Regions from separate parts of the Homo sapiens genome. Here region 2 is linked to region 1. The links are contacts of gene promoters, found by promoter capture Hi-C in human tissues and cell types (Jung and others, 2019). All regions are on one chromosome and are shown on one strand. Each heading gives the region's core, a stretch centred on a gene start or on the middle of the fragment in contact. The rest is flanking DNA. Distances are from core to core; before and after follow the strand shown.

Evidence for each region. The method cuts DNA at HindIII sites, captures the fragments that hold promoters and counts their contacts. A contact is called where the count stands out against the background at its distance.
Region 2: a fragment that was not itself captured here is called in contact with the fragment with the promoter of OLIG3 in region 1 in 1 of the 25 tissues and cell types used here (neural progenitor cells).

What each region holds. Positions count from the first base shown.
Region 1 is chr6:137,493,004-137,497,232 of GRCh38, reverse strand. It overlaps OLIG3 (oligodendrocyte transcription factor 3), which reads left to right and starts at 2,839. Exons shown (of 1, transcript NM_175747.2): 1 at 2,839-4,229. The coding sequence starts at 3,063. The coding sequence ends at 3,881. RefSeq lists enhancers at 682-1,214, 1,215-1,748, 3,430-3,929. The HindIII fragment of the contact is 10,277 bases long and covers 1-4,229 here.
Region 2 is chr6:137,653,398-137,657,650 of GRCh38, reverse strand. No RefSeq gene overlaps it. Among named protein-coding and RNA genes, the nearest start is that of LINC03004, 10 kb to the left of the region's middle. RefSeq lists an enhancer at 4,190-4,253. The HindIII fragment of the contact is 7,145 bases long and covers 1-4,253 here.

The sequences.
Region 1 (4,229 bases), core at 1,590-4,089:
CACGTCCCGGCCTCGGAGCCAGGGAGTCCCGGCCTGGTCCCCGCAGATCTCCCATTTCAGGCACCTCTGTTACTGGAGCTGAAAACCCTTAGGGAAGAAGGAAGGGAATGTCCTGGTCTGTTCGGGCAAAGGCCCAGTCGCCCCTTCCCGGCCCATCGCAGCCCCCTCGGAACCGGCTGCGGCAGGCGTCAGCCCCCTCTCGGCTGAAAGGCTGTGCTGAAGGAGAGTGGCTTCTGGTTTGGACTCCCAGAACCCTGGCCCCGGACTTCCAGCCCCGCAAGCTTGTATTTCGAGGGCTGCTCTACCCTCCTTCCCTCCCCTCCCCCCGCCCACGGCTTGCCACCTTCGTTACTAATTTGGGGGAGATTTTAAAACTTTATTTTACATTGTCCACTGGGAAAATCAAGACTTTTTTTAAAGGGTAAAATATCTTGTAGCAACATGATTTTTCCACTCCTTCATTTGCAACCCTTCTGCTCTGACCAGACAATTCTACTTCCCCAAATCAAAACTCAGGTGCAGCGTTTTCAGTCTGGGTGTGGGAAGGACAGACGCCGCCGACGACCTAGGGTCAGGGAGGTGGCTCAGGAGGACGGCGGGGGCCAGACCTGTGCACCGTCCGCAGGGCGGGGAAGCTGCTCTTCGTCCAGTCCAGTGCTCGCTCCCAATGCCCTCCCCCGTCCGCCTCTCTCTCCTCACCCCATTTGATCAGCAGGGGAGTCGCAGAGGGTTGTCGTTAGGACTAGCCACTAGCTTCCTCCCATCACCTGGGACTGCACAAGTTCTGGAGCACTTCCCCCCTCCCCTCCTTTTTTAAATAACCAGGAAGACTTAGTGTATGTCACTATCTTATTGGCGAGTCTGGTGAATTAAGAAACATTCTTTATGCTTGGTATTAGGAATGCTTTTGGACATTAGTCTTTCCACATCCAATCTAACCTCTTGAATTAAGAAACTTTCCTTCCACCGAGATGAAGGTGGTAGAAGAGGCTCCTGTCCAATCTGCAAGAGCACTAACTTCCTGGCCTTGACGAAGGGCTGTTGGCCATTTTTCCCCCATTACAGAAAAACAAAATTCGGTGTAGCAAAAGCATCCATGCCAATGTTGCGTTTGCCCATCCTTCTGGTATTGGCCAGAGCTGCCTTCGCAGCGTGACTGTCAGTGGGGCACAGCCTCAGAGCGTGCAAACTCCGGACCTGGGCGCGCATCCCTCTCCCACTGACCGCTCGGTTTGAGTCAAGGGAAAGGGGGGCATCCTGTTCTTCGAAGTGACTCAGCGGCGCAAGAGGCCCCAAGTGCCCGAGGTTCCGCGATTGATTCGATTTCACACTTCCACCGAGACTCTCAGTCACTAGCTAGCGTTTGTTTCCCGTTCCACCAAGCCGGGAGAGGGGCGGTGTCCGGGTTCTTCTAGAGACCACTCCTGGGGCTCTCTCCCTTCCCGGGATTTCTGCCTTCCCGCCCCTCGTGCTGCTGAGCTAAAGTCTTGATCACAAAAACACAGCAAGGGGGAAGAAAGATCTACGCCCACCTCCGCACTCGCACCGAAGGCTCCAAACTCCGACCTCCTCTTTATTCCCAGAAACGACTCTGCGCTGAACCGCAGTGCCCGGGCACGCACAAGGGGCTTTCTAGGTCCTTTCGTTGTTTCCCTTCCCCCGTGCTTCTTTGCCCACGCACCCCACCCCCCCGCCCCACCACCCCGACATCAGATAGTTTATTATGAGCTTCTGATTTCCCTGTCCGACGCCGTACGGCGGCCCCAGCCTGGTGGACCCACCCGCGCAGGCCGGGGTGCCGCTGAGTTCCCGGAGCTCGGGGCACGTCAGCACAGCGGCCAGAGGAGGCCCGGCGGAGCTTCGGGCGCGGACCGTCCCACCGTTTTGCGCCAGCGCCAAGGTCCAGGAAGCCTGGAGTGGGAACAATCTCTCTGGAGCTCTCAGGAACCTAACAATCTCTCTCTCTGCCTCCTTGGCTCCTTTTCCTTCCCATCCTCCCAAGTTGCTTTTCTTGTGACATTAACATTTTTTTTTCGCAGTTTTTGGTCTAGGAAGTTAAAGAATTGTGCAAAACTGAAATTCTTTTAGAAATCCATGTTTTAAAACGAAAGAGAGGACACAGAAAATAAGAGACCTCTCCGCCACAATACTGCCAGGAGCAAAGCCATCACCGAACATGGACATCCCGTTGAAACCACACCAGAAGGGCCCAATAAACAAAATTGACAGAATGGAAGTGTTTAGGAAAAGAGATCTAATGAAAAAAAAATATTGAGACAGAGAAAGTCGGCATGCAGTCTTCCCACCACCCCCAGCCCCCGCTGGCAGCACCTTCCCTCCGACCGCACCTCTGTCCCTCAAACCTTTCCACTGAGACCTATTTTTGCCCATATTTCTCTAAACTTGGGAGCAGCCAGGAAAGAAAGGAGAGCGAATGTTTCAATTCCTCTCTCCAAACTCAGAGGAACCTCCACCAACCGCCTGGCCACCTTCTCTTGCCTTCCTTCCGTTCCTGATGTGTGATTTGGTTAGAGAAATTGGGAAGGGGGGTGGGGTGGAAGAAAGTTAAAAAAAAAATCAGGAAGGCGTAAGCTGGAGCGGTGAGTGTGTCAATCAGAGGGTTTTGTGCCTGGGGGCTCCTAGCGGTTCGGAGCAGAGGTGTCCCAGGGCGGCCCCACAATGAATATGAATAGGAATCCTTGCTAAATGGGACAGCAAAGCGCACCGCCCTGAATGATGGCACGTCATCCTAACCAGCCCAGGATAGATAGGAGGGCTCCTTTTGTCTCTTTTCTCCGCCGCAGCTCTATAAAAGCCCCTCTTTTTCAGCGTGAGGTTAGTTCAAGCACACACCAACTAGCTGTCCAGGAAGCAGCCTAACCAGAGAGAGGGGCGTGGGAGGGAGAGAGGCGGGGAAAAGCAGCGTCTCCGCTTTTCTTCTCACGTCTTGCCGCGGAGAAGTGGGTTCCTGGGCAGTGCAGATTTTTTTTTTTTAATTCAAGATTTTCTTTAATTTCCCGCCTAAAGCCTCCCCACGGTAGGGCCGCATCCCCTGTAATAAAATGAATTCTGATTCGAGCTCTGTCTCCAGCAGAGCTTCATCTCCGGACATGGATGAGATGTACCTGAGGGACCACCACCACCGCCACCACCACCACCAGGAGAGCCGTCTCAACTCGGTCTCGTCCACGCAGGGCGATATGATGCAGAAGATGCCCGGGGAAAGCCTCTCGCGGGCTGGCGCCAAGGCCGCGGGAGAGAGCAGCAAGTACAAAATCAAGAAGCAGCTGTCGGAGCAGGACCTACAGCAGTTGAGGCTGAAGATCAACGGACGCGAACGCAAGCGGATGCACGACCTGAACCTAGCCATGGACGGGCTGCGCGAAGTCATGCCCTACGCGCATGGGCCGTCGGTGCGCAAGCTCTCCAAGATCGCCACACTCCTGCTCGCCAGAAACTACATCCTCATGCTCACCAGCTCCCTGGAGGAGATGAAGAGGCTGGTTGGCGAGATCTATGGGGGCCACCACTCGGCCTTTCACTGCGGGACCGTGGGCCACTCGGCCGGCCACCCCGCGCACGCGGCCAACTCCGTGCACCCGGTGCACCCCATCTTGGGCGGCGCGCTCTCATCTGGCAACGCCTCGTCACCGCTGTCCGCCGCCTCACTTCCCGCCATCGGCACCATCCGGCCTCCCCACTCGCTACTCAAGGCGCCCTCCACGCCGCCCGCGCTGCAGCTGGGCAGCGGCTTCCAGCACTGGGCTGGTCTGCCCTGCCCCTGCACCATCTGCCAGATGCCGCCGCCGCCGCACCTGTCCGCTCTCTCCACAGCCAACATGGCCCGGCTGTCGGCCGAGTCCAAGGACTTGCTCAAGTGAGCAGCGGGCGGGCCCGGCTGCCAAGGAGGAGGGAGAGCGGCGGGAGGGGCCGCGGTGCCGGGCCGGGAGGGAAGAGGGAGGCTGCACGCTCGGCCCACGGGAGGGCAGGCTCCGGGGCCCGCAGCCTCCCACGCTGTCTGAGAGATCTCAGACTCCACTTGACCCCCGGAGGGAAAGGACCAAAATCAAACCGCAATTTCTAGGTGGTAGCAAAGGGGGACTCGAACCAGATGTCGTGTGTTTTGCATGCATGCTTCTTTTCCCCATGCCGCGCCAGTATTTTTCACTGCCATATGCTCTTGTCAAAACTGCATTTGTTGTATAAAGATGGGATCGGTGTAGTTAAAA
Region 2 (4,253 bases), core at 1,307-3,806, 160 kb before region 1:
CTCCATACCAAATTCAAAATATCTTACTATGAAGTCACTTTTCTCAGAACTTTCTGAGAAAGTTCAGAGAAGTATGCAAGTATCATTTTTCTTTGTTTTACATGCAAAGAAACAGATCCACCAAATTCTTCCAGAAGCTAGAGAGTGACCAGGGTCATGAGTCACCTGCATATATTTTTGAGTTGAGGGCTCTTTGCAACCATCTCAGCTGATTCTCAGCCACATCCAGCCACATCCAGCAACTGACTAAAACAGCACCTGTCTTTCTAACTGACATAATGAGAAAGAATTACAAGCAAAGCTGACAAGAATGATTCTGTTCTTCCAGGAGCTGAGGGCAACAACAAGAAACCTTATAGGCCACTGTGGTATAACAAAGACTTGGGAAAGCCTACTTATTGTACTGGAAAGTGTTTTATTCCAGAAAGTTATATTGCTATCACTTATGTTTCTGATGTCCTTTCTGATGTCCTCTTATCACCAGCCAAACCCAGGAATTTGGGGATGGCGCTGTTGTAGGAATTTTTCCTTAGTTCAGCTAAAGACAGGGTCCTTGTCACATGAACACAAAAAATTAGGCTTGCAGACAATTTGAGGAGGGCAGGGTTTTTTTGGTGGAAAGGAAAAAAACTCAGCAAAGAGAGAGAGGTTCCTGTTAACAGGCCCCATCTCAGATTGAATACCCAGGTTGCCACACCGGATGAGGAGAGGCCAGGCTCCCCTCTTGCAAACAGCGTGAACTTCCTGAAGCTCCATGCCAGTGCGCACTCCTCCCAGTGTGCAGACCGGTTGGAGTTTTTCTGGGTCCCTCTCCTATTTGGCTGTCTCATTCCCCCTCTGAAGAAGTACATCTAACTGCCTTTAAAAGAAGGATAAGATCAAAGACCAATCTTAACTGCTTTCTACTGACAAGGGACATTGTTTTGGGGAAAATGGCCATCAGAGCTCCCTCAGAGGCCTATCTAAGGGAGCCTGGCAGAATGGGCCATTGTCCAAGGCTCCAGTTGCATGACCATTTGGAGTTTGATGGACTGAAGGGGAGAAGAGAAAAACTGGATTATTAGAAAATATGTATCAAAATAAAACAAGGCCGGGGCCGGGGGGCGGGTTAAGGACAACTTAAAAATTCTGAGGCCTTTTACCAGTTTGCACAGGGAGCGGGAGGCCAAAAGCCCAACTGGTGAAAAAAACTTTACCCTTTTGCCAGCATGTTGGGCTTCTGGGTTCCCTTCACCTGAGCCCTGTCCTAAGCCAACCAGTTTGAGGTTTGGGAAATTAACTTTCCCCAGTTTGGAGAATGCATTTGAGGGGAGTGTCCCATAGTACAGAGACACAATTACCCATCAATGAGGAGAGGACAGAGGAGGAAAAAGGAAAGAAGAAAGCATTTTTTTCCAAAGGAGTCCCACGGATTCAAGATGCATTTGAAAGGGATACAGACTGAAGATGAATGGCTACCCACCTAGAAAGAGCAGAACAGGTGTCCCTGGTTCCCTTCTTTTCCTAGCAAATACCAGGATACATGAGGGAGAAAAAGAAGAACATCCTCTTTCCCTCCTCCATCCTTGCATCCCCAAGTCCCAGCAACCTTGGCAGGTGCTGCCCATTGGTGCCAAAGCAGCTTACACTCATGAAGAAGGGAAGGCCTAGAGAATAGGAATTATCTGCTTTTATCTATGTCTCTTTTTCCCCTACATCAGCAGCCTTGGAATTCACTAGACCCCATTTATACCATGGATACTAGCATGATCCTTATCCATGAAATGGAAGGCTTGGCTTAATCGGCAGGAATTAGCCATGCTCACCTGCACTGTGTCTGATAGGACTGAGTTGTTTGCAAAAATAGACTTTAGTTTTATATATGGCCTGATTATTTGCATAAATTGCAGCAAGAATAACTATTTCTACATAGACCTTTTAGATTGGCTTTGATGGAATTCTGTTCCACAAGGAATCTCAGATGATATCTTTTAAAGCCAAGCCCAACCATGGTTTTATATCCACAAATAACTGTGAGTTGGGTGATCCATTCCTCTTAAGGTCCCAAGATAAACTTGGAGATCCTTGGCCAGTTAGAAAGTGACATTCTTTACTGATCACAGGTCAGGAACCCTGTACAGGGACTGCGTAGACAAGGGTATGAGGACAGTTTTTCCTGCGGGGTTTTATCAGCTCTGCAAGTCAAGCTTGACTCCTCAAAGAGAAGCATACCCTTATAATCAAACCCTTGGTAAAACAACTGGTTTCTCCACTTGCATCCTGTTGCAAAAGAAAAATGGATTCTTACTGCACTGATGCAAACAACTATATTGCCATAAGTTAAGAATACTCACAGATAGTTTCCAAATTCTAGAGGAACCAGGCAGAGAGAGAGAGAGACAAATAGGCTCCAAATTTTGTTCACAGGAGTATAGCTTACTCAGTTATTAAAGGCTGTAAATACTTCAAAATAAGTTTTCTTAACCCTGAAAAACAAAACGGGGATCAGCAATATTCCAACAAAAGTTAAAAAGATTGTTTCAGTTTTGAGTTCAGTCCATTAGTTCTAGTTTTGCTTGATATTCATGAACACTTCAGCTCTTCATGAGTCATGTACATTTTTCCTTTATTCCAATGTTACAATCTCCAAAGTTATCAGAAACCTGTATTTGAGAGGACCTGTCAAAGTTCTATAGCTCAGTATAAACCATCTTTTGAAAAGCATTAAAACAAGACAACCATTGTCTGTGAATAACAAAATGTCCAGGGTAGTTACAGTTAGAAACACAATTGACAAAGAAGTTTGGTTATCTCTGTGATTTACAATAACCTAACATACCAACCTTAATTATGATTGATAGCATATACTCAGACATTAGAATTGTAGAAATCCCATATAATTTTGAGCATATGCTAGCATTACTCACAAAAATATTACCTAAAGTATATTGAACATCATTTTGGCAGTCCCATGTACCTAAACATGTTTACCTCTCTTTTCTGGACACTCCAGGGGCCCTCTGAAGTATCTGAAAAGCCAGGAGTCAGGAAAGACAATTTCGGAACCAAAGTTTGATTTTTGGGAAGCCTGTTAAATTTGTTAGAGGTTTAAAACACTTGATGTTATAAAACAGTATTCCAGGTCACCATAAATTATTTATTTTGCCAAAATGATGACTCAGAAATTTTAAAGAGGCAAAAGCCTTTTATAAACCTTTACAAATTTTGCTAAAGAGCAGATTAGCACCTTAAGAATACCTTGTTGTGCTTTTATTTCAATGCTCAATTTACAGAATAACTTTTTTGAATTTAGTCAATATGTTCACACAGAGAAACTATTCTGTAAGATTAATGTCCACAATCCTTCCACCACTTGTTTTAACCTTTAGCTTTATCTTGTCTAATTCAAAACAATCCTTTACTCCTAGGCAAAAATTTACAATTTCGTGCCTTTTTATAATCTTTTACTAAAAACACATTTTACTGTTTTCACACACTTTGCATGTAAATCTATTTCCAATAGTTTCAATTATATGTTATAATGGTAACTCCTAGCAGTTTTTAACTTTAATGTAAAACCTGGTAAGTTGTTTTAATTGTGTGCTAGGTGCAGCCAAGGTTTGACTTCTTCCAGCGTAATTAAGGGTGTGGTTAGTTTCATATGTCCCCTGGCATTACCAATTGTGAAGCTGACAAATTGAAACATTCTCAAAAACCAAAAAGGCAGTTTATAACCTTAAAACATTTAGCAACTCTAGTATCTAACCTGCATAATTTAGTCCACCTATTTATATTTTGATGACATCTGCATTTTACCAATAACCTTTACGACTGCCTTATTTCTCAAAGATTAAAGTCGCTTGAACTGAAAGTTACCACAGCTTTTATCTTCCCTTAAAAAAATACTTGATTCAAGTGCTTGTCTTCCTTTAGGCCAAATTAATTAGAGCTCTTTTTACAGACATCATATACATAACACATATATAGCTACACAGACAGGCAGAAGAAAACCCAGTCGCTGGGTGGAGCCCTTTAAGAGACAGGGCTAGGAAAATGTGCAGATATCAAACCAGAAAGGACTCATTCCCTAGGCAGGATTGCTAAACAAAGCCTTGCCATGTGGTTACAGGCCACACCCTCAGGACATATGCCCTCAGGACATAAAACAAGATGGAGGTGTGCAGCAAAGTTTGCTACTGACCACACAGACATGCAAAGCATACCACATTGGCTACAGCTTAAGACCAACCTCACAAATCCTTTTTCACAATTAA